Regions from separate parts of the Homo sapiens genome. Here region 1 is linked to region 2. The links are contacts of gene promoters, found by promoter capture Hi-C in blood cells and fetal thymus (Javierre and others, 2016). All regions are on one chromosome and are shown on one strand. Each heading gives the region's core, a stretch centred on a gene start or on the middle of the fragment in contact. The rest is flanking DNA. Distances are from core to core; before and after follow the strand shown. Region 1 holds the start of LOC107985151 (a long non-coding RNA gene). Region 2 holds the start of ZNF516 (zinc finger protein 516).

What was found. Contacts are between HindIII fragments. The CHiCAGO score rates a contact against its expected background, and 5 or more counts as called.
Region 1: a contact is called between a fragment that was not itself captured here and the fragment with the promoter of ZNF516 in region 2, in 4 of 17 cell types (M0 macrophages, monocytes, M2 macrophages and 1 more). The highest score is 7.9, in M0 macrophages.

What each region holds. Positions count from the first base shown.
Region 1 is chr18:76,658,514-76,661,431 of GRCh38, reverse strand. It overlaps LOC107985151 (a long non-coding RNA gene), which reads left to right and starts at 64. Exons shown (of 3, transcript XR_001753506.1): 1 at 64-468. RefSeq lists an enhancer at 2,224-2,725. The HindIII fragment of the contact is 3,630 bases long and covers 1-2,918 here.
Region 2 is chr18:76,493,838-76,496,789 of GRCh38, reverse strand. It overlaps ZNF516 (zinc finger protein 516), which reads left to right and starts at 1,548. Exons shown (of 7, transcript NM_014643.4): 1 at 1,548-1,646. ZNF516-DT (ZNF516 divergent transcript) reads right to left here and starts at 1,451. Exons shown (of 2, transcript NR_164145.1): 1 at 1,004-1,451; 2 at 1-511. ZNF516-AS1 (ZNF516 antisense RNA 1) reads right to left here. Exons shown (of 2, transcript NR_136504.1): 2 at 2,872-2,952. RefSeq lists silencers at 1,439-1,498, 1,629-1,728, 2,429-2,518. The HindIII fragment of the contact is 7,170 bases long and covers 1-2,763 here.

The DNA of each region.
Region 1 (2,918 bases), core at 193-2,692, 160 kb before region 2:
CTTCCTCTATTAATTTGCTTTTCCACCCGTGCATCTATATGGAGGTTATGCAAGTTTGATGTTCACAGAAGCATTCTTCAGCAAAGATAATTAATTCAAACATTAAAAATATATACATTCTGTTGTTTTGCTTTCCTCTTTCAGAAAGGGAGTTTTAAAAACCTTTTTCCTTCACCTAGTAGACCTGGCAGTATATGAGTGTTTGTTATTTCTCCTGTGCTGTGGAGTCCTCATACGCTTTGCCACCTTACAGCTGCACCACTCGCGAAGACCCTGTTTTTGTGATCTAGCTGAATTGTGACTTCAGGAAGATGAAGTTTGGATGTTGCCGTTCTTGTGGCAAACACAGGTGACACACCAATACAGGGGGCTGGATGCTGGTCCCCCCTGGGCATGGCGTGAATTCTTCAGAGTATGGATGTACGCAGTGTACGGGTGAGGGGTGTCCCTGTTCGTGTCCCTAAAGAGGTAAGCTGACTCCAGATGGCCTGTTCCAACTCTGTCCCCAGCCCCTCCAGGGCGGGGCCCCACCTGCCTGAGGCTGTTCACCCCCAGCCTCTTGCTGCAACAAGCCCCTCGTGCTGCCAGGCCTTCTTGGAAGAGGCACCAACCATTCCTGGCTACTTCCCAAGGAGGCCAACTGGTGAAGGAAAATGAACCATCCTCACAGTGGAGACAGTGATGGCAGCTGGTACAGACATCCTCTGCCTGCTCCTCCTCCCCATTCTGGTCTCTCCCTCCAAATACAACTGGATTGGCTGGGCCAGCATCTCCCTGGGGATTGGGACCCCTCTCTCCTATGAAAACAGCTCTAATCACTGTGAGTCCCCATTTGGTGTGCACCCCATGAACTTGGTTTTGGGAGAGACACCTGATTGGGAGCCATAGCTGTGTCTACTGCACCTAGGACCCACAGCCCCATCCCTTTGCCTTATCTTCGCCCCTCTTTGTGTTCTTGTAGACAGATGGGAAGGGAGATGGGGCGGGGGGCAGATGGAGTGTTTGGAGGGGCAGATCAGCCTGGACTGATCGCTCCCTGGACCTGATGAGCAGCTGAAGTCACTCCTGGACCCTCCCACTGTTACTGTTATCTGTGGGACCCTGTTTCCCAGGGTTGGGGCCTTCCTCTTCTCCTCCAGAAGGTAGGCATCCTTCAGTAGCATCCTAAGAAGGGTGCAGAGGGGCACGGTTCTGAGGGCCCGGCAGGACTACACGTCTTTATTTTACCTTCATGTTTTATGGTTTGATATAAAACTACAGTTTTACTATAGCTTTCCACTTAGCATTTCCCTATTTACTTTTTATTTTTATCAAAGAAAATGTCCAATAGAGCCAGACCCTCCTCCAGGCCGTTCTTTTGGTGTTGACCACTGACCCGATCCATTTACGTCATCTGTGTGTACCGGCAACGCTGGCTTCATTCACTTTCTCCTATTGTTGCCTTGTTGTTTTTGGCTGGTTTTCACAGTAGGTCCTAAAATTTCTATTTTTGAAACTCTAAACATATATAAAAAAAAGAGAGAGTAGCATAATGGACCCCTGTGAACACGCACCATGCAGCCTCAACAAAGATCAACTCCTGGGCAGCTGTGTCTCCCAGGCTGCAATACAGGCCACAGTGACCATATTGAAGGCACTGCGGCATCTTCCAGCCTCCCTGCGACTGAGCAACTCACTTCCATTCTAATGCCTTTTCACCTGGGAGCTGCTTGTTTGTTGTTCCCATTTTAAAGCCCTCAAGATCATCTATTGAATGATGGCGTCTTGGAATTCCATGACGACAGACCTGTGATCATGTCTCCTTTCATTCTGCTGGTCCTTGGCAGGTCTCTTACATTTGGGCACTTGTTAGTTCTGTGAACTTTTACTTGACTTCATCCTTCAGACCTTCTACAGAATTTTTTTTTTTTGAGACGGAGTCTCGCTCTGTCGCCATGCTGGAGTGCAGTGTCGCGATCTCAGCTCACTGCAACCTCTGCCCCCTGGGTTCAAGCTATTCTCCTGTCTCAGCCTCCTGAGTAGCTGGGACTACAGGTGCCCGCCACCACGCCCAGCTAATTTTTGTATTTTTAGTAGAGATGGGGTTTCCCCATGTTGGCCAGGATGATCTCGATCTCTTGACCTTGTAATCCACCCGCCTCAGCCTCCCAAAGTGCTGGGATTACAGGCGTGAGCCACTGCGCCTGGCCAGAAATTTTGTTTTATTTTAGTTGTCATTCCTACAAATTCCAGGAGCTGTGATTTAGTCTCTGTCTGCGTGCACGTGTGCGTTCATCTTGCTGTTTTATGAATGCAGCATTTGCCTAAGGATGTTAATATAGATTTTTTAAAAGTTTTTTTCTGCTCTCTTTATAGACTGCTTCCTCTATGTTAATTTTTGTAACTTTCATTATTTTTTTTAAATCAAATCTTTTGTGGTGCTAGACTGTCCTTTCACATTGACGACCAAGGTACTAAAAACCAGACTGAGTCACGGCAGGGCCTGTGGGCTAGGGGCATCATTCATTTCCCCTGTCGGGGGAAGGCCGCCCACCCATGGCTTCTGATTGTCTGGGAGCAGGTGGTCAGGGGCTCCTGCACTGAGGAAACTCTTCCTGGGCCCCCTGCATGGAGCGCCCCCACCCCTGTGAGATGGAGAAGGAGGGCAAGAGCTCCCCCTGTGGCCCAGCTATGGAAGGAGACCCTTTTTGTTGGGCTCCTTGTGGTAAACGACCTCTTCCTGTCCACATCTTCAGCTGTAGACACGTTCCCTGTACTTTACCACCTCTCATCTGTTCCTGCTTTCTGTACCTTGTTGAAATATCTCACTGGCTGCTGTTTTTCCTCTCATTTTCTTTGTTATTATGAATAATATCTTTAAAACTATTATGCAGAGCTTTAGGTAAAAGAGAAGATAAAATCCATCTGGTCAATCCACT
Region 2 (2,952 bases), core at 299-2,798:
GACTTAAACGTGATTGCTGAAGAATACATCCCACTTAGGCATTCATGCTGAAGCCAGCAACAATTGTCCGTGACCTTTAACATGCCCGCTCTCCAAATCAGTGCAGGTCGTTAGTCACACGGAGCTTACATTTGAGGACTCGCGGATCCTTCATAGCGGAGGTTGTCCCTGTCTTTCTGCCTGACTCCCCCCCGCCCCCCGACCCCGACACACACTCCCCACCGCCCCCAGAAACATCACACATGCAGAATGCCCCCCCCGTCTGATCGCCAGCTTTCGGGCACATGCGCCTCCCTTTGCAGCGCGTCTGGAGTAGTTTCTTTTGTAAACGCCCTAAGTTGGGGAGGGCCGCGGGCTGCGAGTGTGAGGCGCAGAGAGAGACGCCGCCGCTGAGGTAACCGCCAGGATTGCAGCGCTGATTGCTACGCGGAGCCACGTTGGGCGTCTTGGACGGAATCCACCTCCACTGCGGAGTTATCACGAGGAGAAGGAGAACAATACGGCCAGGAGCCTGGTGGGAGAAGATAGTGTTACCCCTCCGCAGGCCGCAGCTCCCCGGGTCTACGTCACCGGCCGTGAAGGGGCGCTCGCCCTCGCTAGCTCCGACCCGCCCCTCCCCCGCCCCCGCGCGCCCGCCCTCCCCTCCCCCACCCCGGCCATCCCTGCCCTGTAACAGGAGAGCGTTTTGGAGTCAAATTAGGATTTCTAGTCCCAGACTCAACTTATTACAACTAACTACTGCTCGTGGGGAGTAGGTGAGGTGAAGAAATGAAGTTTTAAGAACAGAAAAATAAGAGTTGAACTTTCGAGGCTACCGGTAAACAACCCCTTCATTTTTAAATGGCCGGGTGGCAGAGCCGCTGTTTGAAGTCTTTCCAGCGGGACCTCTGTGACCCTTGATTCAGGACTTAATGTATTGATCCTGCATCTGAACACCCCCAGAGGCATTTACCAGGAAGTTGAGTGACACGCACACGCTACGCCGTGTGTAATGCACACGCACCTGGGACCCCCGAAGGGGTGTCCCCATTTCAGTCCAGATGGGGCGCAGTGCCCAGGTACCCGCCGGCGGGACCCGCATCCCGAGCACGTCTGTACGTATGGATGCGCGTGTGCGCGCGGAAACGGCCTCCGGGAGCCGGGGCTGCAGCAGCCTTAGACCTTGACGAGGGGCGACCACTGGCCGCTGGAACCGTGATTCAGTGCTATTAGGGGAGGAATTGGCTGTGTCTGAGTCACTGCAAGCCTCCAGACTGTCCCCTCAGTGTGGCAGAACTTTGTGCTGATGAGACAATAGTGGAGTGTGCGTTTCCTACAGGGCAGACCATTTCCAGGCTGGGGGAAGCCTCCGGCCTGCGCCGGGCCGTGAGCGCCCGGCCCCCTCCCCGTGCCGCGCAGCCCCCCGAGCCCGGCTCGCGCCGGGGCCCCCGCGGGGCGGACGCGTCCGGGGCGCGCGCGGGCGGCGCGAGGAGGGGGCCGGGCGCGTGGCGGGCCCCGCGCGCCCTCGCGCGTCCCCCGCGCCCGGGCGCAGCTGGCGCGGTCGGTCTAGTGCAGCGCTCGGCTCCGCGCCGCGGGCGCTCGGCTTCACCTTCAGATGCGCGGGGCGTGCGCGTCCTCCTCCCCAGGCCCGCCGCCTCCCTGCCAAGGTAGGGGCCGCGGGCGGGGGGAGGGCTGCGCCGCAGGGGCCGCGGGCGGGCGGTGGGCGCGGGGCCCGGAGCCCCGACGTGCCCCGTACTCTGGTGTGCGCCGCTGGGGGTAGGGGGGGAGGCGCTGGGGAGGGGGGTGCGCCGGGGAGGGGCCCCCCGGGCGCGGGGAGGGCTACTTGGCTTTCCCGGTGGGTAGTTGCTCTGCTCGTCAATTCCAGGATAGGGGAAGATGCAACTTCGGGCGGCGGGGCGAGCGCCCGGGAGGTGGTTTTTACCGCAGTGGAGGGGCGGGGTGGGGGCCGGGGTGGGAGCGCGGAAGAGGCTCTGGCTTTGTACACTTTGTCAAAGGCGACGCGGGAGGAGGGGAGCTCGGATGCGCTCTCCATCCATTAGGAGACAAAGAGCAAATTGCCTTACTTTAAAGTAAAACGCTCCGGCTAATGAAGGTGGGTGATGGGGCTGCGGGCCCGAGGAGCCGCTTCAATTATTAAGGGTTTGGCGGATGGGATCGATGCCTGTGGGCACCGCGCGCTGCTGCCTAGGGGACGTGTTTGCGTGGAGGTGGGGGTGGCCTTGTTTTTTACGGCCCCCTCCCCGGCTGCTTGCCAGTCTGCTGGGAGCTTCTAAGTGACCCTAACGTTAAAGAAGTGAGAGGTCCTGGAAGGGAAGTTCGGGCGGGGGTGGGGGTGGGGGCGAGGGTCTGGCACCGACTCGGAGAGGGGTGGGCAGGGACTCCTCGGAGCTGCGCCCCGCCGGGTGCGGGTGGGGGAGGCCTCGGTGGCGAGATGAACCCGGGTGTATGAAGGAAGAATGCGGTGGGGTGTGTGTGGTTGGGCGGGAGGTGGGGGGAGGCGCCTCCGCTGCCATTTCCAGGGAGAACTAACAGACTGAATAGTTACGATCAGTATTTAGATTAAACCGCCTCAAGTTTTAACGAAACTTTGTATGAATAAGTTTGTTAAATGGCAGCCGAGTGGGGTATTTAAAAGCAGCAGTTTATGTGTGTGGTGAGGAAAGCCAGTGGACCCCCGCAATTAGGGACCAGAGGGAACCAGCCTTTTACCCGAAAAATGTGGGTCTGTAAGTCAGCCTCATCTATTATCAGCGTTAATAAGCTTCCCGCAGCAGACCGGGAGCTCTGGGGGCTGTGTGTGTGTCTTACTCATTCCGCTGATAAAGAGTCACCGGGTCTCCGGGTGTGCAAAGATCAACTTGCGCAGCCCTCTTTTTAAATATATTCATTCTGTGCTTTATTTAATCCAGATGCACAAAAAGCCATTTGCTGCTGCATTGTTGGTTTACATTT